Regions from separate parts of the Homo sapiens genome. Here regions 1, 2 and 4 are each linked to region 3. Evidence: promoter capture Hi-C in 16 types of primary human blood cells and fetal thymus (Javierre and others, 2016). All regions are on one chromosome and are shown on one strand. The core of a region is centred on a gene start or on the middle of the fragment in contact, and the rest is flanking DNA. Distances in the headings are between cores, read along the strand shown.

Region 1 (5,931 bases), core at 2,570-5,069, 680 kb before region 3:
TTAATTTAGTTCACATGTTCTTAGCATCAATACCAGAACTTAAAGATAAAACCCAAACCTTCTCCAAAGAAAGAGGGTTATTCAGGTAGGCCCTAGAGTGGTCTCAATTTCATAACCCACTGAGTGATGTTACAGTAGTAATCTTTTGCTTCATGAAAATTCCAATAAGAGGTAGACAGATGCTGGGGGTAGTATTTGTAGGTGGATAAATTTGGGATGAATAGGTAAACACTAAAACCAATAAAAATAAAAACAAAACAACAAAAAATCCCTAAATTAAAAGCTCCTGCGGCTGGGTGCAGTGGCTCACGCCTACAATCCCAGCACTTTGGGAGGCCGAGGTGGGCAGATAGTTGAGGACAGGAGTTCATGACCAGCCTGGCCAACATGGTGAAACCCCATCTCTACTAAAAATACAAAAATTAGCTCGGCATGGTGGCCCATGCCTGTAATCCCAGCTACTCAGAAGGCTGAGGCAGGAGAATCGCTTGAACCCAGGAGGTGGAGGTTGCAGTGAGCTGAGATGGTGCCACCATACTCTAGCCTGGGCGACAGAGTAGCGAGACTCAGTCTTATTTAAAAAAAAAAACAAAAAACAAACAAAAAAAGCCAGGCGCGGTGGCTCACGCCTGTAATCTCAGCACTTTGGGAGGCCGAGGTGGGCGGATCACGAGGTCAGGAGATTGAGACCGTCCTGGCTTACACGGTGAAACCCTGTCTCTACTAAAAATACAAAAAAATTAGCCGGGTGTAGTGGCAGGCGCCTGTAGTCCCAGCTACTCGGGAGGCTGAGGCAGGAGAATGGCGTGAACCTGGGAGGCGGAGCTGGCAGTGAGCCAAGATTGTGCCACTGCATTCCAGCCTGGGCGACAGAGCGAGACTCTGTCTCAAAAAAAAAGTTCCTGCAAAACCTTACTCAAACAGAAATCAACCTGAAAAGAAATTTTTTAAAGAGTACAGGCAGGGCACGGTGGCTCACATCTGTAATCTCAGCACTTTGGGAGTCTGAACTGGGTGGATTGCTTGAGCCCAGGAGTTTGAGACCAGCCTGGGCAACACAGAGAAACCCCGTCTCTACAAAACATACAAAAAAGGGCATGGTGGCACATTCCTGTAGTCCCAGCTACTGTTTGGGAGGCTGAGGTGAGAAGACGGTTTGAGCCTGGAAGATAGAGGCTATAGTGAGCAGAGATTGTGTCAATGCACTCCAGTCTGGGTGACACAGCGACACCATGCCTCCAAAAAAAAAAAAAAAAAAAAAGTCAAAGTAGGATAAAATGAAGCTTAATGTATTCATATAGGTGATTTATATGATTTATATTAAAAGTTACCAATGGGGCTGGGCATGGTGGCTCATGCCTCATGCCGGTAATCCCAGCATTTTGGGAGGCCGAGGTGGGCAGATCACTTGAGGTGAGGAGTTCAAGACCAGCCTGGCCAACAGGGTAAAACCCCATCTCTACTAAAAATACAAAAATTAGCCGGCCTCAGTAGCACGTGCCTATAATCCTAGTTATTCGGGAGGCTGAGGCAGGAGAATTTCTTGAACCTGGGAGGCAGAGATTGTGGTGAGCCAAGATAGCGCCATTGCACTCCAGCCTGGGCAACAGATTGAGACTCTGTCTCAAAAAAAAAAAAAAAAAAAAAAGTTACCAATGAAGCATAATTTTCATCAGGGAAAAATTGGCCATTATATTGTATGTACATATATTTGCATATGTTAAAAAACTTGATGTATTTACATTAATAAAAGTTTAGTCAAAACAATGGCCATTTTAGTAAAACAAAAATGTTACCTTTAAACTCAAACTCTAAACTTCAAAGGAAATGAAGCCTCCAATTTAATGTAATCAACTGTCACACCTTCTAAATTTATAGCCATTAAATAAGAACTTTCCACATAGTATGTTTTCTTTTCTTTTCTTTTTTTTTTTTTTTGGGAGACAGAGTCTCGCTCTGTTGCCCAGCCTAGAGTGCAATGGTGCGATTTCGGCTCACTGCAACCTCTCCCTCCCGGGTTCAAGCAATTCTCCCGTCTCAGCCTCCCGAGTAGCTGAGATTACAGGCACCTGCCACCACGCCCAGCTAATTTCTTTTTTTTAGTAGAGACAGGGTTTCACCATGTTGTTTAGGCTGGTCTCGAACTCTCTGACCTCAGGTGATCCACCTGCCTCAGCCTCCCAAAGTGCTGGGATTAGAGGTGTGAGCCACCATGGCTGGCCCGTATGTTTTTTCTCCTTCTTTTTTTTCTTTTTGAGACTGGCTCTCTGTCACCCAGGGTGGAGTGCAGTGGCGTGATCACAGCTCACTAGGGCCTGAAGCTCTCGGGGTTCCGGTGATCTTCCCACCTCAGCTTCCCAAGTAGCTGGGACTAGAGGTGTGTGCCACCTATTTTTGCATTTTTTGTGGAGACAAGGTCTCACTACATTGCCCAGGCTGGTCTTGAACTCCTGAGCTCAAGCCATCCACCCACCTAGGGCTCCCAAAGTGCTATCATTACAGGCATGAGCCACCACACCTGGCCTCTATTTTATTTTAATGAATTGCTCCTAATTTTGAAAGATACATTTTAGACAAAGAATCCCCATAAAATATATTTTTCCATATTTTTGAGAAATAGAGAACTATTGGTTTCATTTGTATCTTTTCCTTTTTTTAGCCAATTAATAATGAATAATTATGATGAAAAAATTAGTACCAATAACTAAACATACTAATAAGGATGGGAAAGTGACTTTAAAATTATTCTAAAGTAGTATTTTTAATATTCATCTACAATTAATTATTGAATTATTGTTCCCTACAAGCTAAAATATTAGTTTTATCCTCTATACTATGCAACTATGACCCTGAAATGGTTGTCTGATTTCTCAGCCTCCTGGCTCAAGCAATCCTCCTGCCTCAGCCTATCGAGTAGCTGGGACTATAGGTGCTCCCCACCATGCCCGGCTAATTTTTTTTTTTTGGAAGGGACAGGATCTCACACTATCTTGCCCAGGCCGGTCTCAAACTCCCAGGCTCAAGCATTCCTCTCACCTCAGCCTCCCAGTGCAGGGATTACAAGCAAGCCACTGCCCCGGCCTCAAAAGTTTTTTTTAGGCTACTTTTGTAGATGAATCTCAAGAACAATGTGCATGTTGGTTAGTATCAATTTAAGCCAGAACTTGAGAAAAAAATTAGGTATTTACTACAAAATTATAAATTTAAATGATTGGTTTCTTTCCTTCATGAAGCAAAAATAAAGCTGACTTTTCTAGAAAAGACTGTAAAGAGGAGACAGAAGCAACTGACCCTCTACTTCTCTTGTTCTTTCTTTTCTTTTTTGAGATGGAGACTCGCTTTGTCGCCCAGGCTGGAGTGCAGTGGCGCAATCTTGGCTCACTGCAACCTCCGCCTCCTGGGTTCAAGTGATTTTCCTGCCTCAGCCTCCTGAGTAGCTGGGATTACAGGCACCTGCCACCACGCCCGGCTAATTTTTTTTATTTTTTTGTGGAGATAGGGTTTTGCCATGTTGGCCAGGGTGGTCCTGAACTCCTGGCCTCAGGTGATCTGCCCATCTCCGCCTCCCAAAGTGCTGGGATTACAGGCGTGAGCCACTGCACCTGGTTCTACTTCTCTTGTTCTGTGATATGAAAATTATCCTAAGCTGTAAGATTCCCAAGAAAACTGAAAGAATGGGGACGCGGGTAAGCTTTGCTAACCGTGGCCTTCCCCATCCACCTCTTCCCCCAACTTTTCCCATAAAAGCAACCTCTACTAATAAAACAAAGCATCTTTTACAAGTAGCTCCCTACAGGGATCCTATCTGTCCTTGAGTGCTTACCACAATCTGATTTCTGGACAGCTGACCCAAAGTTTGTTGATTTTACTGATCTTCAGAAAGCCACTGACTGGCTAAAGTCTTATTGGTGAACAGAGTCAAAAATCAGATGCCCCTGCCAAGCTTTACAGAATGAGGAGTTGGACAACACAGTTACGTTTGGCTGCACTGTGGTGAAACATATGAGGTATCTTCTTTTTGTCTTCAATCAGCCACATTTGGGCTGAGTAGTTCTATTACATCTTCAAAAAACTGAGCTCCAGTTCTTGATGGAGACAGAGGAAGGTCATTGAGGAGGTGGTTCAGCTCAAGAGCTAAGTGAAAAATGTCTTTTGATTCACTCCTGCTTGTGGATAGAAGTCATCTTCGGGATGGAAGAGGGAGTGAGATGACCTAGAGTCTTGAATTGGTGGATCTGCAGGAACAGAAACTAAATACAGTGGAGACCTCTTAACTGAGTAACACCACGAGATGGATTTCCTGACAAAGTGCCAATATAGGCTAAATATAAAGATTAAACATGTGCAATAAAAGTGATCATGCACTTGTTTTTCCAGATATCAAATGCATTTGTACCATTTTATGAATACATGTTTTCTTAATAACTGATTATAAAACAATGTAAAAAAAAAACCAATTTAAGAAAAATAGACCCATTCAAACAAAAAGCCTGTAATTTTGCCTATATGAGTGCCATTTCCTCACGTTTAACAAGTCGGTTCTTTCAAATGACTTTTTATCCATATACAAACTATACTCTGTCTAGTCCACATAGTGTCAGTAGTAACATACATCAAATTTTAATTTGAGATAGATCTTTCAGGTTTTTTTTTAATCCCCTAGAGAAATGAAATTCAAATTACACCTCAAGGTACTAATTTACAATAATCTACCTGCTTACAAATTCTAAGACTTGCATTAACCAAGTTTATTCCTACATATCAACCAAAAGAAGAGTACGTATCATTAAGTCAGGCAATCTTTAAATGTGAGTAGTGGCCACCTCAAAGTTCCCTCAAACTTTGATTTTAAAAAAACTTTAAAGGCCCACAACCAGATTACTGTGGATCTAATTTAAATTTTCTACATACATTTACAAGAATTTTGATGAACATTTGATTACTTACTTCTACTTACAATTTGAATATGTAAATTTACTGTATATACTCTCATAATTATTAGACCAGGAATCAGCAAACTATGGTGGCCAAATGCAGCCTGCCACTGATTTTTGTATATAACGTTGTACTGGGACACAGTCATGCTTTTTCATTTATGTATTGTCCATGGCTACTTTCATGCTGCAATAGCACAAAAAGCAGTCATGACAGGGACCACAAAACCTAAAATATTTACAACTGGCCCTTTATAGAAAAAGGTTGCCAACCCCTGATATAGACAATTATTAAAACATATATAATACAATTAAATTATTTTGAAATGAAACAGAAATAACATGTAGAGTTAAAATTAGTTATAGGTCAACCATAACAAATATACCACAGAAAGAAAAAAAACGTAAAATAAGTCCCAAGAGGACACTCCATCTGGCTTTCAGATGAAAAATTTGATCTTTACATATAAAATATATATACATATATATGTAAATGCTATAAAACTAACATTCAAGAATAATACAGATACACGCTATGGAACTGTTCATTTAAAAATGGTTAATTTTGTCATGTAAATTTCACCTCAATAAATTTTTTAAAAAATAAGAGTATATGCAGTACTTTACAGATTTCTACCTTTAAGTGGGCCACATCATAGTACAGTGGTTAAAGATTTAAGTTACATCTTACCTAATAATGTGGTTTCTCCAATATCTCTTAGATCATCTCAGACCCTTGTGTATATTTCTTCTTTGCCAGTAGATGGAGACAACACCACTGAAAGTTTAAAAGACATCATTCCCTGTTTAAAGGGAGCTTGCTGGTCTGAAAACTGGGGGAACCCTAACCCAAAGATTTCTTCATTTATTTTTTAAAAGACAGAATGGCTATGCCAAAATAAGAAATCCAAGGGAATGTACCCAATATTAACTACGGATATCCTCAAAAATTTACTAAAAAGTAACTAAACTCTGTCTGTGATATGGTAACTAAATC
Region 2 (5,838 bases), core at 435-2,934, 660 kb before region 3:
TCAACCTTCAGCCACCTGAGTAGCTGAGATTACAGGCATGCGCCACCACGCCTGGCTAATTTTTTGTGTGTGATTTTAATAGAGACGGGGTTTTGCCACGTTGGCCAGGCTGGTCTCAAATTCCTGGCCTCAAATGATCCGCCGACCTCGGCCTCCCAAAATGTGAGGATTACAGGCATGAGCCACTGCACCCGGCCTCAAAGTAGAGTTTTAAAAATAGATAAGAAATGTGTCAGGTGAGATCTCTGCTTACACCTAAATAAAACAGTATCTAAATATTAACAAACCTCCATTTACTTGACTTTTCCGTCTTACTCGAGATATCTGTTTGTTAGGTTTTTCTCCTGCTCTTGGTGTTGACGTGATCAAATTGTTATCTATATCACGTTCAATTCTACTCCGTTTTGAAGGATTTTCTCTCTCTTCCTTAAGATATAAGAGAAAAAAAAACACACTAAGCACAATCATTCTGCCTTACAGGTTACAATATTAAAATGAAAAAATACGGTATAATATACTTTCCTCTGCTTTTCATATCCAGGAAAAACAAAATGCAATTATAGGTAATATCAACACAGAAAAAATTTGACAGGGCTGTAAGAACATGAATGCAATTACAATATACAAATACAATTACAGCATCCCTACAATTCAGATCCCTTCCCCAAGGTCCATTAAGTTTTCCATGCTATCAAAATATTGAATTATAGAATGTGCTCTGAATCTTCAAAAGCTTTCCCTCATTTTTAGAAGTGTCCTTAAGAACAGAGATAATTTCCTTAAGCAACTCAGGGTAGGAGAGGGAGCCCCACTGAATGTGCTGGCAAGTCACATATAGCCCAAAAATAGAGGGTGGGGATAAAGGTGGGGCCTGGCACTGCCACACCCGCACTGCCTACCTCAATTATTCAATTACCAGAATAAATAATATAGAGTCTACCCCTTAACAAAGCTCTCTATTTGCTACCTTATATGGGGCAAGTCCCCATGACCAGTTTATACTATTCTTGCAGTACTAATGGACTAAAATAGTATACTTTCAGCCATTAGGATGATTTATGTTTTACTATTTATATATATAGTTTTCTAATTTGTAAATTTTTTTTTTTTTGAGACAGAGTTTTTCCTCTGTTGCCCAGGTTGGGGTGCAGTGGTGTGATCTTGGCTCACTGCAACCTCAACCTCCTGAGTTCAGGCGATTTTCCTGCCTCAGCCTCCCGAGTAGCTGGGATTACAGGCGCCCACCACCATGCCCAGCTAATTTTTGTATTTTTAGTAGAGACGAGGTTGGAATTACAGGCGTAAGCCACTGTGACCAGCCTCATTTGTAAATTTTTTCTAGAGTCATGCACATGAGTGATTTTTTCTTTTTCTTTTTTTTTTTTTTGAGACAGAGTCTGACTCTGTCACCCAGGCTAGAGTGCAGTGGCACGATCATGCCTCACAGCAACCTCCGCCCGCCTCCTGGGTTCAAGCGATTCTCCTGCCTGAGCCTCCCGAGTAGCTGGGATTACAGGCACGCACCACCACGCCCCGCTAATCTTTGTATTCTTAGTAGAGACAGGGCATCACCATATTGGTCAGGCTGGTCTCGAACTCCTGACCTCGTGATTCGCCTGCCTCGGCCTCCCAAAGTGCTGGGATTACAGGCATGAGCCACAGCACCTAGCCACATGAGTGATTTTCTAGTATTACTATAATACTGCCCTACATAATTCCTTACTGTTTTAATGAGACTACCTGAAATCTTTTGGTAAGGATTAGATCTTCAAATTTACATATTATATATAATTGATACATATAATCAACATTCTCATCTCTACTTTTTTGTATTTAATGTTTTTACCCTACAGCAACTAATAAAATGCACTAACATACATTTTCTACAAGTTGGATATTGCTGCATTATTTCTGAAACAAAACTTGGCATTGTAAATGGTGAAAATTACAATAGCATACAATAATGCCTCAGTGATCCACAATAAAATCCTTCCAATTCTGACCATGTACTATTCTCCTGTATTTTAAAATGAGGATCAGGGAGCCTCCTATCACAAACATGGAATCTTCATTATCAAAAAATACAGGAGCTCTCTTTATAAAGTCTTTGAAGAACAGAAATAATACAGCAGTTTCAACTACATTAAGTCCTAGCCTCCCCCTGAAATGTCCTAGTACAGCTGCTATAACATACATACATACATTCATGAAAACCTTGCATTCTGCAACAATAAAAGTAACAAAACTTATGGAAAAAATGGGTCCAGAAGGGGAGAGAGGTATGTTGGGGCAGATTAGTTCATGCCCCTGTAACTTTGTAACCATAGCACTAACAAAAACAATGATTGGAGCTGGGCTTGGTGACACATGCCTGTAATCTCAGCTACTTGGGAGACTCAGGTGGGAGCCCAGGAGTTCAAGGCTGCAGGGAGCTATGATTGCACCACTGCACCCCAGCCTGGGCAACAAAGTGAGACCCTGTCTCTAAAACAACAACGACTGGGACCACCAGAGATAACTTGGACATCCCTACGCAGGTAAGGCAGCTAAGAGGGCTGGAATGCTACCTCAGGGGATAATAAAGGGTACTAAAAACAATGAAGTAGAAACGGGCTTATGGGAAAAGTGAAGCTTTAAGCCAGCAGGGCTGCTGTTAAGTTGGGTACAAAAGGAAATGCAAACTGCCACATGTGAAGAGTCCCTGCTAGACCAGGGTGCACCTCTCTGGAGAGAGAATATCTGCTGCAGATTATCAGTTTTAATTAAAAATAAAAATAGGCCGGGCGCTGTGGCTGAAGCCTGTAATCCCAGCACTTTGGGAGGCCGAGGCAGGCGGATCACCTGAGGTTGGGAGTTCGGGACCAGCCTGACCAACATAGAGAAATTCTGTCTCTACTAAAAATACAAAATTAGCCAGGCATGGTGGTACATATCTGTAATCCCAGCTACTTGGGAGGCTGAGGCAGAAGAATCGCTTGAACCCGGGAGGTGGAGGTTGTGGTGAGCTGAGATCATGCTATTGCACTTCAGCCTAGGCAACAAGAGTGAAACTCCATCTCAAAAAATAAAAATAAAAATACAGGTGAAAGGACTTGTGCCTATGTAGCAGCTGAACTGGAGGCTTTTTACTTTCCTGATGAAGAGAATATCAAATTCAACTCTAATTATTCAGTTTGTTGTCTGGTTTAGAAGAAAATCATCTACAAACCCCTCCCCCCTACTATGTTATTGATACTACTCCCCTGTTTACCAATAGTGAGTAAGCTAAATAATATTATTGTAGGGGCACCACATATTGTTGCAGAACAGACTATAAGGCGGTCACTTTAGAACACATTCAAATACTTCAGGTTACAAAAACGGAAGAGGAAGCTATTAAGGTCAAGACTAAAATTCTGCAGTCATTGACAGTAAAATCATACTCTTCAGAATAATTCATTGAAATGCCTAATGATCCAATCCTTTTATTTCCCCCCAGTAGAGACAGGGTCTTGCTATGTTGTCCAGACTGGTCTTGAACTCCCAGCCCCAAGCAATCCTCCTGCCTCAGCCTCCCAAAGTGCTGGGATTACAGGCATGAGCCATGGTGCCCAGCCTGATGATCCAATTCTGAATGACAATTTGTCACCCAATCCTAGTCTTCTGTGAACATTCAACTGTAAAATTTGGGTATACTTTGAACATGGTAGGATTTTTTAGAAGAGGAAGACGAACTAGGAAAGACACAGTTTCTACATTACTATATAAGCTGTTTCACTAAATACAGTAATCCTACAATGTCTTCTCTAAAATCTGTATTTTTCTTTTTTCTTTTTTTCATGGAGGCAGGGTCTCTGTCGCCCATACTGGAGTGTAGTAGCACAGTCATGGCTCACTACAGCCTCAAACTCGTAAGCTCAAGCATTCTTCCTGCCTCAGCCTCCCAAGCAGCTAGGAATACAGACACATAACATCACGCCCTGTTAATGTTTTTATTTTTTGTAGAGACAGGGTCTCGCTATGTTGCCCAGGCTGGTCTCAAACTCCTAGCCTCAAGCTATCCTTCCACCTCAGTGCAAAATTTGTATTTTTCAAAGTTGTCTCTAAGATAGGTAATTAAGGGGAAAATGATGGGAAGGTGTTCTTAAATATATGAATCCCCATGTAAATACAGAGAACTGAAAAGGCAAGAAAAACCCATGGGCAACATTTACAACGAAACCAGAAGACAAGGTATCCCCCACACTCAAAAATGCAAGCAGATGAGAACAAACCAACAGGCACAATAACTAAATGTCCATATATACCAGTGCAAAGGAAAACAGAAATAAGCAACAAGTGAGGTGGCACACCTGAGAAAAGAAGCCCCAAATACCTAACAGGTAGGTAGTCACTGGAAACCACGGCAGGCCAATTTGAGAACAGCAAATGAAATAAGGGGGAGGGGAGTTGGGGAGTTGCTGTCCAATCCAATAGCATAGGGGGTCTATGGCTAGAATTGAAATGACAGGAACAGTCTGCTCCTATGAACTCTTGAAACTGACCAACTATGGCGCCCTTCTAGAACAAGTTTCCATACTTAGGAGGAAGTATTGGGAGTGGAATCAAATGTGAGTAGGGCAGGCACAGAGAGAAAAGACAGAGAAATTCCAAATAAACACATGGTAGAAATAAAAGACAAAACTCAAAAAGCATCACCAATATTTAAAAACACTACATAAAAACAAAATTTGTTCAAAGAGATACCCTGAACTACATAACTTTCTGAAAATTCAGAAAAACTAATTTCACATAAAAATGAGCAAGAAAGTATAGATATCAAATCCCACACAAAACTACTATAATGAAACACACGTGGAGCAGAACAATACCTCTATAGATAAAGAACACGTGTCAGAAAAAGATGCATAGGGAAAAGATAAAAATTATAATCTTCTATTTCAAAATCAGGCAAAATAAGAAAATATGAGGCTGGTGTGGAGGCCTGTAATTCTAGCACGTTGGGAGGTCGAGGCAGGAGCCTCACTTGAGGCCAGGAGTTTGAGATCAGCTTGGGCAACACAGCAAGATCCCATTTCTACACAAAAATTTAAAAATTAGCCAATCATGGTGGCATGTGCCTATAGTCCCTGCAACTCAAAGAGGCTGAGGCAAGAGGATCACCTGAGCACAGGAGTTTGAGACTGCAGTGAGCCATGACCATGCCACTGCAACCTGGGCAACAGAGCAAGATCCTGTCTCAAAAAAAAAAAAAAAAAAAAAAGGAAAGAAAATATGAGACATACAGCAGAGGAAGAAAAACTCAGAAACTAAGAAACAGAACAAAAAAATTCAAAAATTTTTACAAATCATTTCAGAAATAAAGACTATACTACAAGGGGCCCAAGAGAGTAAACAAAAGATTATACCTTATAAGAAAGAGGGTAAAATGAACAATTTTGTTCTTTTGAGAGCCAGGGTTTCACTAAGTTGCCCAAACTGGTCTCAAATTCCCAGGTTCAAGCAATCCTCCTGCTTCAACCTCCTGAATAGCCAGGACTATAGCTGATGGCCAGCACACCTGGCAAGGGAGAAAACTTGTTTTTTTTTTTTTGTTTGTTTGTTTTTTTTTAAAGAAATGAAGACAGACATAAAAACAAATGAAGAAAATGTAAAAGCCAGGAGTGGCATGTCAATTCAAGACACGTTTTATTATTTTTTATTTGTTTTTGAGACAGGCTAGACAGCCGTCACCCAGGCTAAAGTGCAGTCAGTGGCTCCGCCTCCTGGGTTCAAGCAATTCTGCCTCAGCCTCCCAAGTAGCTGGGATTACAGGTGCCTGCCACCACGCCCAGCTAATTTTTGTATTATTAGTAGAGA
Region 3 (6,274 bases), core at 202-2,701:
AGGTTCCTTCTAGCCCAAAACTGTTTCCTTGGTTGCTTAGTTGGGTCCCACACTGTTCCTTGCCTGAGATTTGTCCAGTTTCATTTCTTCTCCCACTCAAGGCCCAATTGTAGAACACAGGTGAAGTAATTTGGGTTAATCATATTAATAGCAACTTCAAGGCCCCTCATGACTCAAAAATTACTGATAAAACCAAACTTTTCATGGTGTCCTGTATAAAACATACTGTTTCTGGACTTTAAGACTTTGTTCCTACTGTCCCTTGTCTCCCCCGCAGTTATAAAGTCCTTTCTACTGTGAAATGTGTCCTGACTTTCCAATTAGCCAATATTATATATATTTTTTAACACGACTCAGCTTGTAAATTGGAGCTGCTTCTGTTATTATCCTGTAAGTCCTTAAAGAGTTCTTAAATAGGCCGGGTGCGGTGGCTCACCTCTGTAATCCCAGCACTTTGGGGAGGCCGAGGTAGGTGGATCATCTGAGGTCAGGAGTTCAAGACCAGCCTGGGCAACATGGCGAAACCCTGCCTCTACTAAAAATACAAAAATTAGCCGGGAGTGGTGGCCCACGCCAACACTCAGCACTGTGGGAGGCCGGAGTGGGCGGATCACTTAAGCCTGGCCAACATGGTGAAACCTCGTCTCTACTAAAAATACAAAAATCAGCAGGGAGTGGTGGCAGGCGCCTGTAATCCCAGCTAATCAGAAGGCTGAGGCACGAGAATTGCTTAAACCCGGGAGGTGGAGACTGCAGTGAGCTGAGATCGAGCCACTGCACTCCAGCCTGGGTGACAGAAAAAGACAGTCTCAAAAGAATAATAATTACTTAGATATTTAAATACAAACATTTTCTAGCCAGGAATGTATTTTAATAGGTAGTTTCCAGAAACTGGAAAAACCTGAAAGCCTAAAAAAGTGGAGTTTTGGGATTTCAGGTGGGCAATGTCCCAGGCACCTCGGGAGTTTTTTTTTTTTTTTTTTCGGTCACTGGCCTAAATCAGCACCACCTGCCCTGTGAAACCAAATACCGCACCACAGCCCACCCTGGCCTTATGAACTAAGCTAATCGGATACTACTGGCAAGATTTTTATTCCATCAAACTCTACTTCTTCTGAGCTTTCAACAAGCCATTCAAACAGTAACTCACTGTCGCCTGAGTTTCTTATTCACTATACCGTTCTTGGCTTCAAACCAAGCTAACACGTAAAATCTTTCATTCGAACCTTCCTCACCGCAGAGTCCTAACAGCAAAGCCCAAAGGAAGCAAAATTTCCCGCCAAAAGCTGCTTCCAAATTCTGCGACGTAGAGGACATGCGGGCAGCCAATGAGCATGCGCAGAAACCGACTCGACTTCCTAGCTGTGGGCGCCCAAACGTCGTCCACCATCCCACAATCCTCTCGTCACGTATTTCCGGTTTATCTAGCTCAGCCGTAAGTAGTTTCTCTATCAGTCGCGCAGCTGTGTTCGCGGACTCAGGTGGAAGGAATTTCTTCTCTTCGTTGACGTTGCTGGTGTTCACTGTTTGGAATTAGTCAAGTTTCGGGAATCACCGTCGCTGCCATCAACATGTCGGTCCCAAGCGCTCTCATGAAGCAACCGCCCATTCAGTCTACGGCTGGGGCCGTCCCAGTTCGCAATGAGAAAGGTACGGTGCTAACACCCTCTTCCCAGTCGAATTTTAACCCCTTCCGGCCCCAGCAACCTCCAGACCTCTCCCGGACAGACCACTCCAACCCCGCCAGCTCTTGAGATCTGGCTGCCAGATTCTTCGATCTTTCCACCCCCACCCACTTGCATCCGATCTTGTTCCTGTGGCCTGCTCTCGTATTCAGCAAGCACCTCTCTTCTGTTAGCCTCCACAAATTCCTTAGACTAATGTTACATATATATAATATATATTACACATATAAAAACATTAGGAACTTAAGTATATATCAGAATATATATGTCTAATATATATATGCTAGAATATATGTATTAGTCTAATATATATTATGATTAGAATATAATATCACTAATTACATATAATTACAAGAATTTATGTATTATTAGTGTAATTACTTAGGAACTTAAGTATATTATTAATCTAATAATTAGGAACTTAAGTATATATCAGAATATGTATATAATATCAGACTAGATAGATAGATAGAGAATGCCTGTTGGCAGGGCATTGTGCGGGATACAGTCCCTCTTTTGCTGTCCATAGAAGTCTGCTTATGCTGCCCAGGCTGGACTCGAATTCCTGGGGCTCAGGCTGTCCTCCTGCCTCAGCCTCCCGAGTAGATGCCGCCGTATCTAGTCTCAACATGGCTTTTGAGAATTATCTTTGGATCCCTATACATCTAATTCATTCATCTTAACAGCTTATGAATTCCATTGTATAAAATAAACTGTAATCCACACTTTATTCCCTACTGAGAGGCAGGTGGTTGTCCCCTTGTTCAAAAAAGTGCTGCGGCCAGGCACGGTGTCTTATGCCCATAAACCCAGCACTTTGGGAGGCTGAGGCGGGCTGAACACCTGAGGTCAGGAGTTCAAGACAGCCTGGCGATCATGGCGAAACCCCGTCTCTACTAAAAATACAAAAAATTAGCCATGCATGGTGGTGGGTACCTGTAATCCCAGCTACTTGGGAATCTGAGGCAGGAGAATTGCTTGAACCCGGGAGGTGGAGGTCGCAGTGAGCAGAGATCGCACCATTGCACTCCAGCCTGGGCCACAGTGTGAGACACTCTCTCAAAAAAAAAAAAAGAAAGTTCTGCAATTGTCATTCTCTAGCCAATACTAGCTTTATTTAGTACCTGTTGCCAATTGCTCCCCAAAGTAAGTTATAAGAACATAAGAATTTGTGGAGCACAGTGGCTTACACCTGTAATCTCAGCACTTCGGGAGGCTGAGGCAGGAGGATCGCTTGAGGCCAGGAGTTCAAGACCAGCTTGGGCAACATAGCGAGACCACCCCCCACCCCCGCCAATCTCTGCAAAAATAAAAATTAGGGCCCGGCGCGGTGGCTCACGCCTGTAATCCCAGCACTTTGGGAGGCTGAGGCTGGTGGATCACCTGAGGTCAAGAGTTCGAGACCAACCTGGCCAACGTGGTGAAACCGTCTCTACTAAAAATACAAAAATTAGCCAGGTGTGGTGGCAGGCGCCTGTAATCCCAGCTACTCGGTAGGCTGAGGCAGGAGAATCACTTGAACTCAGGGGGCAGAGGTTGCAGTGAGCCGAGATCGCACCATTGCACTCCAGCCTGGGGGACAAGAGCAAGACTTCGTCTCAAAAATAATAATAATAATAATAATTAAAAATTAGCGGGATGTAGTGATGTGCTCCTGCTACTTGGGGGAAGCCAAAGCAGGAGGATCACTTATGCTCGAAAGTTCAAAGATGCAATGAGCTATGATTGTGCCATTACACTCCAACCTAAGCAACAGATCAAGACCCTGTCTGTTAAAACAAAGGCTGGGCGTGATGCCTCAGGCCTGTAATCCCAGCACTTTGGGAGGCCGAGATGGGTGGATCACCTGAGGTCAGGAGTTTGAGACCAGCCTGGCCAACATGGTGAAACCCCGTCTCTACTAAAAATACAAAAATTAGCCGGGTGTGATGGCGCACGCCTGTAATCCCAGCTGTTTGGAAGGCTGAGGCAGGAGAATCACTTGAACCCGGCAGGTGGAGGTTTCATGGAGCCAAGATCATGCCACTGCACTCCAGCCTGGCCAACAGAGCAAGACTCTGTCTCAAAGAAAAAAAAGAAAACAAACTTTGAGAACCTAAGAGCTTTATTTCCCATATATTCATCATCTACACACTTGGTTGTATCAGATTTTTACATTTTTTGCCCAATCTAACAGGTGTGAAATGGTATCTCATTATTCTAATTTGCATTCCCCTGATTACTAGTGATGCTGGGCTTTTTTTTTTTTTTTTTTTGAGAAAGAGTTTCACTCTTGTTGACCAAGCTGGAGTGCAATGGCTCCATCTCGGCTCACCATAGAGCTACTGCGTCCGGCCGATGCTGGGCATCTTGTTCATGTGTCTAATAAGCTCTCTAGATTTTCTTTTCCATGAATTACCTGTTTCTGTCAGTTACCCACTTTCTGTTTGCTTTGTTTTTATATATTCCAAATCTATAGTATACGTTTCCCCATTTTTTGGCTTGTCTTTTAATTATGGAGTCTTCTCTTACACACGTTTCTAGTTTTAGTATTATCAGATTTATCAACTTTATCTTGTATGGTTTTAGCTTTTTTTTGTATATCGTTTAAGAAATAATCCTTCCCTGCACTGAGATCACAGATACTCATATTGTAAAGGTTTTCTATCTTCTGAGTGTTTGTATATATTAAATTGAGTTGAATACACACTTATACAAGACAGATTATAAGTTAGCTTACAGTCCAGTAGGGAATGTAAATATTTAAGATAAGTTTTTCATAGTTGCGTCTTTAATCCATCTGGAATTTTTGTGTCTGTGGTGGAAGTTAGAGGTCTAATTTTACTATATGGTTGGCCAATTGTCCCTTCTCACCCCATCCATTTTCTACTGATTTTTAATGCCATCCCTATAATATACTCGAGTTCTCATATAAGTTTGTTTTTCTTTTCTCTGTTACATTGATCTCTGTGTACTTCCTGGGTCACTGACATATCTGGTAAACTATGCCCCACCCCTCCTTCCCCGCCCCCATCAGCTTTATTCTTCTTCAGCATTGTCTTGGCATTTTGGGGCCTCCTGTTCTTCCATATGATTTTGGAATAAGCCTGGAGACAACTTTTAATGGAATTGCATTAAAATGATAGATTATACATTTATAGGTTAATTCAGGTGCAGTTGCCATCTTCTCATCCTTGAACATGAAATATTTCTCTATTTACATCTTTTTTATCTTTCAATAAAATTACATATTTTTCCTCCTAAAAGCCTTGTACATTGTTTGTTGGATTTATTCCACAGTATCTTATAGATTACTTGTGACCGTTAATGGTATTTTAAAACTATATTTTCTTCAGCCTGGGCAACATAGCGAGACCCCAAAAAATACAGTGCTCTACAAAAAAACAAAATTACCTGGGTGGTACCTGTCTGTAGTCCCAGCTACTGAGAGGCTGAAGAGGGAGGCTCACTTTAGCCCAGGAGGTTGAGACTGCAGTGAGCTGTGATCATGCCACTGCACACCAGCCTGGGTAACAGAATGAGACCCTTTCTCAAACAGTAGAAAATAAGCCAGGCATGGTGGCTCACGCCTGTAATCCCAGCACTTTGGGAGGCCCTAGGCAAGAGGATCACTTGAGTCCAGGAGTTCAAGACCAGCATGGGCAGCATAGTGAGACCTCGTCTGTACAAAAAAATTTTAAAAATTAGACCGGCATGGTGTTGCACGCCTGTAGTCCCAGCTACTTGGGAGGCTGAGGCAGGAGAATGGTTTGAGCCTAGGAGGCTGACGCTGCGGTGAGCCATGATTGCGCCACCGCACTCCACCCTAGGCAACAGAGTGAGACCCTGTCTCAAGAAAATAAATAAAAATAAAATTGTACTTTCTAATTATATGTAGCTAATGTACAGGTATGCTTATTTTTATAAATAAGTTTTTTATCTAGCATTTTTTCTGAACTCTTTTATCTATTTGTTATCTTGTGTTTTCTACAAAGACAACCATATAATCTGCAAATTATGGCAGTTTCTTCCTTTTAAATCCTTATAACTTTTCCTTATTGCCCAAATTAGAACCATAATACAGTGTTGACTAGAAGGTGTGATAGGTACAACATTAGGATGCTCACTGGTTTTTTTTGTTGTTGTTGTTTGTTTTTTTTGAGATGGAGTCTTACCCTGTCGCCTAGGCTGGAGTGCAGTGGCGCGATCTCGGCTCACTGCAAGCTCCGCCCCTGGGTTCACACCATTCTCCTGCCTCAGCCTCTTGAGTAGCTGGGACTACAGGTGCGTGCCACCACACCCGGCTAATTTTTTGGTTTTTTGTTTTTTTGAGACGGAGTCTCGCTCTCTTGCCCAAGCTGGAGTGCAGTGGTGCTATCTCGCTCACTGCAAGCTCTGTGTCCCGGGTTCACGCCATTCTCCTGCCTCAGCCTCCCAAGTAGCTGGGACTACAGGCACTCGCCACCATGCCTGGCTAATTTTTTTGTCTTTTTAGTGGAGATGGGGTTTCACTGTGTTAGCCAGGATGTTCTCAATTTCCTGACGTTGTGATCCGTCCGCCTTGGCCTCCCAGAGTGCTGGGATTACAGGCGTGAGCCACCACACCCAGC
Region 4 (5,859 bases), core at 187-2,686, 700 kb before region 3:
GCCTAGTATGACCTCAAATTCCTAGGCTCAATCAATCCTCCTGCCTCAGACTCTAAAGTAGCTGGCACTACAGGCGCCTATGATGGCACCTGTGACCTGGCTCACAGTTGACTTTATAAGTCAGTACACACAAAGCAAAGACATTTAAAAATATTTATTTCAATATAGTTGAGCTAACAAAAACACAACAGAAAAAGATAAGCTACACTTACCAGTTCTACAAGCTTCTCCAGGAATGGAATCAATTTTAGGAGTTCATTGTCATTTTTATCCATAAACCAACTTTCTATAGGGATTCCATTAGAAAGCTAAAACAATAAATAAGTAATTAAATCCTCTTTTACTTATATTTTACCTAGTTTGGAAAAAGTTAAAAAATAAACAAAGATTTATTAAGTAAACACTGATCTAAAAGTTCCTTTGAAAAGTAATGTCACCAGACTTTTCTTTGACAACTCAATAGTGCAAGAGACAGAGGATAAGGAAATAAATTGAAGCCTATTGGTTTTTCAGTGTCATTTCTTCTCAGAGTATATAAAACTAAACAAGAAAGTTCCATTAAAATACATTTTATAAGGATCATTAATATAAATAAAATATTCCATTATTCCTTCAAGAAATAGTTACAATTAGTACAATGCTAGGTAGGCACTGTGAATGATGGGACACTGCCAATCTAAAGAGAATATAGAAAAGCCTATACTTTTTTTTCCCCTTAAATACAGTGACCATATCTCCCATTCATTATTCTATTCCCATCGAGTAGGATGATAACTTGAAATATAGTAGAAACTTAACAAATTAATGGTATTTCATTGAAGAGGAGCCTAAAAACAAGAATGCAAGCCATATTTATTTTATGGTGAATAATCTCTGGGATAAAATGTTTTAAAATTTAGGCTAAATGTTGTATATGAGATGGAGGATAATTGATATAATTTTAACTAGGAACCAAGATGAAATTCTTAAAAGACATTTTTAAATGTAAACAAATAAAAGTAAGGACCTAAATATAACTTAGTATCATATACAGCTTTTCACTTGTTTTCTTTTTATTATAGACATTTTGAAACACAGGACAAATCTAGTTTATACTCCAATCCACTTTGCATCATCCCTATTCTGGACTGGCTTATTGTGAAGCAAATCTAAGAAATCCTATCACATGGGGCTGGGTGTGGTAGCTCACAACTGTAATCCCAGCACTTTGGGAGGCTGAGACAGGTGGGATCACCTGAGGTCAGAAGTTCGAGACCAGCCTGGCCAACACAGCAAAACCCCGTCTCTACTAATAATACAAAAAAATTAGCACGGCATAGTGGCGCGCACCTGTAGTGCCAGCTACTAAGGAGGTGGAGGCAGGAGAATCACGAACCCGGGAGGTGGAGGCTGCAGTGAGCTGAGATCGTGCCACTGCACTCCAGCCTGGGCGACGAGCAAAACTCCGTCTCAAAAAAAAAAAAAGGAAAACAAAAAAAAGAAAAAAGAAATCATATCACATGGACATATTCATAATCTAAAATATACCTTGAAAGGATGACTCATCAGGCAGGCGCAGTGGCTCACACCTGTAATCCCACCACTTTGGGAGGCTGAGGCAGGCGATCACCTGAGGTCGGGAGTTCGAGACCAGCCTGACCAACATGGAGAAACCCCGTCTCTACTAAAAATACAAAATTAGCCAGGCGTGGTGGCAGACACCTGTAATCCCAGCTACTCGGGAGGTTGAGGCAGGAGAATCGCTTGAACCCAGGAGGCGGAGGTTGCAGTGAGCCAAGATCACGCCATTGCACTCCACTCCAGTTTGGGCAACAAGAGTGAAACTGCTTCTCAAAAAACAAAAACAAAAAAAAACAAAAAAACAAAAGGAAGGAAGGATGACTCATCTACATTTGTAGTTATACGTCAAAGAAATATTAACAAAGGGTACAAATATATTGACAAAATAGTCTAAGAAAATATTTCAGAACATTAAACCAAATAACCAGACCAGAAGAACATAAACTAACTATAGTACTCAAATATGTTTATGATTAAATTACTAATTACTGATTTAATAACTGATAAGAATGCTATTCAATGATGCTTATCTTATAGTTTTCTTACTCAGGTTTTTCTTCATTTATGCTGCATGTCATTTAAGTAAAAATTTTCCAAAAGGAATATACCACTTTGTCATTTCTAATTCTAAAAAAATGACACATTAAAGGGAAATTCCACCAGTGAAAATTCTCTTCTTCTTCTCCCATCATATTCTGTTTGGCAGCATGTGTCTTCATTGTATTTTTTCCAATCTGAGTTTGTTTATCAACTTTCTTCCTACCTGATATGCAAAGGCTTGTGGTGAGTTGTCAATTATTATAGTTTTTGAAAGATCTCTTCCAAGAATATTTAAGTCCTTTATATAGTTTCCTTGTACACAAACACAATGTTCACGGAAAAGCCGGTGCCTAAACATAAAAATAAAAACAAATTAAAAAAAAAAAACTTTCTAAAAAGTAGAACATATACACATATATATACACCATAGGCTTTATAGTTTAAGCCATATGATTTTCTCTCTTGAAGGAAATTCAAACACAAATATGGGTCTAAGCGTTGGGCTGCCATTTTACTATAAAAATTCTAAGCAATTACTGAAAGCTTACAACCAAATATTACTATGCCTTAAAGAACTTGAGTTTATCCCAAAATGTTATTATTAAATTATAAAGGGGGATTAAAAACTCTAAATTGTTTTTGTAATTTATTTACCCAAGAAAGCTCAGCTCAGATGCAGCATCTGGTTGTCAGCGAGGTCCTGCTTTTTAACCAATTTTCCAGATGGTTGACTGAGGAACAAGGAGGTCAAGTGACTTGCCCAAGGTCACACAGTAAGTCAGTGGTTAGCCCCGCATTGGAACCCAGGATCCTCCTGGCTCCCAGTCCTTGGCTCTAACCAGTGGACCACACAGCCTCCCTATCCCTGTACATGCCAGAATAGAAAATATAAGAAGGAATGTTTTTGTGTTGGCATTTGAAAAAATGCTTTTTAGATTTCCTTATTTTTTTTGAGAAAAGGTCCTAAGACCAAAACATTCCATCATTTCAACTTTTCCTAAACACCCCTCTTTTAGTATATGTGTATGATCATTTGAAAAAAGATTAAGTGAAATGAGGAATTCAGATTTAAGTATCAAGTATTATAAATGTAAACTGATATTTCACTCACATAGAAAAATACTACATCATTTTAGAAAGCTATTAAAGGTTTTACAATACTAAAGTGATTATTATAATCTCAATTTATACTCAAAATACTAGTCTCTGAACATTACTAATAATTGTTTCATATAATTTTTTTCTACCTTGAAGTACTCTATTCTGTATATATTAATAATTGGTAAGTTGTCTTCCTTGTGTCTTAATCACACTAACAATTTTACAAAATCTAGGACCTATTTGGACCTGTATTTTAAATTATGCAATTTCAAGAAACTGGTATTTTCTACCCACAAAATCTGTCACAGTGCTACCAAGAATAAATAAAAATCTACATATACACACACAAATAAAAACTCAACCTTAAAATTATCAGTGCCAGTTGGTATGGCAAAAAGGAAGAATTTAACGAACAGACAAAATGTATAAGCAGTTCTTTCCCCCTTATTATAAGGAATAACTTTAATAATCACAGTCAAACGATCATCTGGCCCCGGGAAAGTTTAGTCAGTTCTACTTTGAAAAAACAACAACAAAAAAGACTAAGTAAATTAATTCAAGCCTTGGTTGGGCCTAAATAAGATTCACTGTTTTATTTCTATAAACATTTAGATATGAGGAAACTGGAAAGGCAGATACAGCATGTAAATTCAAGTCACTGTTGATGCCTCTTCACCGATAGTGGCAAACTCATTGAGACAGGAGACAACTGAATCTGTACGTGGATACTACAGTTATTTTAATTAAATTACAGTAAAAGCCTTCCAATTATTCATTCAGGAATCTGAGGGTGTATAGCATGTATTTGCATTTTTAGAAAAAAACTATTTGTACCAGTCATCAAAGAGCAGATCATCCATGTGAGTACAGACTTGTGTTAGAAACTCATGAGATTTAGAGATCACAGGAATTTCTTTTTTTCTTCTTTTTTTTTTTTTGAGACGGAGTCTCCCACTGTCGCCCAGGCTGGAGTGCAATGGCAGACTCTCGGCTCACTGCAACCTCTGCCTCCCGAGTAGCTGGGATTACAGGCGCCTGCCACCATGCCCAGCTAATTTTTTTTGTATTTTTAGTAGAGACGAGGTTTCATTATGTTGGCCAGGCTGGTCTTGAACTCCTGACCTCGTGATCCGCCTGCCTTGGCCTCCCAAAGTGCTGGGATTACAGGCGTGAGCCACGGCACTCAGCCTAGATCATAGGAATTTCTTAGAGTCTACCTTGTCACCAACACAGACAATTCCCTATAGCACTCACAATCTACTCTTTGAAACGCTTTTGTTGGCCAGGCGCGGTGGCTCACGCCTGTAATCCCAGCACTTTGGGAGGCCAACGTGGGCGGATCACGAGGTCAGGAGTTCCAGACCAGCCTGACCAACATGATGAAACCCCGTCTCTATTAAAAATACAAAAATTAGCTGGGCGTGGTGATGCGCGCCTGCAATCCCAGCTTATCAGGAGGCTGAGGCAGGAGAATCGCTTGAATCTGGGAGGCCGAGTTTACAGTGAGCCAAGATCGCACCACTGCACTCCAGGCTGGGTGACAGAGCAAGACTGTTTCAAACAACAAACAAACAAACAAAAAAACAAGCTTTTGTTTCAGATTTCTCAAAATACATCTAGATAGAACAAATGGAAACCCTCAAGTGTGTAGGTTTTATAAATCTAGTTTAAAAGAGGATTGTTAATTTATAACACATTGTCATAACATGACTATCATTTGTTCCTCATTAGTAAATGAAAGCTCCAAGAGGGAAGAGCTTGTGTTGCTCACCACTGTTCCCTGGAATACTGGAGATGCTGAACAGAAATCATTATAATGAATGAAGTCATCAAAACAAAATCACTGGGTATACTTTAGTAAAGTGAGGTAAAATTAGCATAAATTACAATATACTTTTGTGAACAGAAAATACCATTTCCCATTTGTGTGACTGCAGCTTACTTATTTTGACCCTTTAGATTAAAAAACAAAAGATACCACAGCTTTATTTAGAATAAAAAACCTTCCAAAATATGAACATTAGGAAAAGCCTTTCAGTATACTTGCAACCACTGAATAATAAAGGTACTGTTAACAGCAGAAAATACACTTTAGGATTTTCCAGTAAGACAACATGGGAAAAGTATTTAAGAAAATTTATACTCAGCTGGGCTGGGTGCAGTGGCTCACGCCTGTAATGCCAGCAGTTTGGGAGGCCAAAGTGGGTGGATCACTTGAGGTCAGGAGTTCAAGACCAGCCTGGCCAATATGATGAAACCCCATCTCTACTAAAAACACTAAAAATTAGCCAGGTGTGGTGGCACACACCTGTAGTCCCAGCTACTCGAGAGGCTGAGGCAGGAGAATCTTTTAAACTCAGAAGGCAGAGATTGCAAACTGCACTCCAGCCTGGGCAACAGAGTGAGAATCCGCCTCAAAAAAAAAAAAAAAGAAAAAGAAAGAAAGAAATAGAGAAAGAGAGAGGAGAGAAAGAAAGAAAGAAAGAGAGAGAGAAAGAACGAACGAACCAACCAACCAACCCAGCTATTAAAGTCTTTTTTTTTGAGATGGAGTTTTGCTCTTGTTGCCCAGGCTGGAGTGCAACGGCACGATCTCGGCTCACCATAACCTCCGCCTTCCGGGTTCAAGCGATTCTCCTGCCTCAGCCTCCCGAGTGG

What was found. Contacts are between HindIII fragments. The CHiCAGO score rates a contact against its expected background, and 5 or more counts as called.
Region 1: a contact is called between a fragment that was not itself captured here and the fragment with the promoter of MFAP1 in region 3, in 1 of 17 cell types (endothelial precursors). The highest score is 6.2, in endothelial precursors.
Region 2: a fragment that was not itself captured here is called in contact with the fragment with the promoter of MFAP1 in region 3 in 1 of 17 cell types (endothelial precursors); the score reaches 6.0 in endothelial precursors.
Region 4: a contact is called between a fragment that was not itself captured here and the fragment with the promoter of MFAP1 in region 3, in 2 of 17 cell types (endothelial precursors and erythroblasts). The highest score is 7.2, in endothelial precursors.

The regions. Positions count from the first base shown.
Region 1 is chr15:44,501,743-44,507,673 of GRCh38, reverse strand. The region is part of intron 8 of CTDSPL2 (CTD small phosphatase like 2); the gene reads right to left. Among named protein-coding and RNA genes, the nearest start is that of EIF3J-DT, 32 kb to the left of the region's middle. The HindIII fragment of the contact is 252 bases long and covers 3,694-3,945 here.
Region 2 is chr15:44,478,812-44,484,649 of GRCh38, reverse strand. CTDSPL2 (CTD small phosphatase like 2) reads right to left here. Exons shown (of 13, transcript NM_016396.3): 3 at 288-426. Among named protein-coding and RNA genes, the nearest start is that of CTDSPL2, 54 kb to the right of the region's middle. The HindIII fragment of the contact is 1,898 bases long and covers 736-2,633 here.
Region 3 is chr15:43,819,867-43,826,140 of GRCh38, reverse strand. MFAP1 (microfibril associated protein 1) reads left to right here and starts at 1,451. Exons shown (of 9, transcript NM_005926.3): 1 at 1,451-1,650. The coding sequence starts at 1,572. RefSeq lists enhancers at 1,004-1,635, 1,388-1,647. The HindIII fragment of the contact is 28,469 bases long and covers 1-6,274 here.
Region 4 is chr15:44,515,760-44,521,618 of GRCh38, reverse strand. It overlaps CTDSPL2 (CTD small phosphatase like 2), which reads right to left. Exons shown (of 13, transcript NM_016396.3): 11 at 2,324-2,450; 12 at 213-308. Among named protein-coding and RNA genes, the nearest start is that of EIF3J-DT, 18 kb to the left of the region's middle. The HindIII fragment of the contact is 2,419 bases long and covers 227-2,645 here.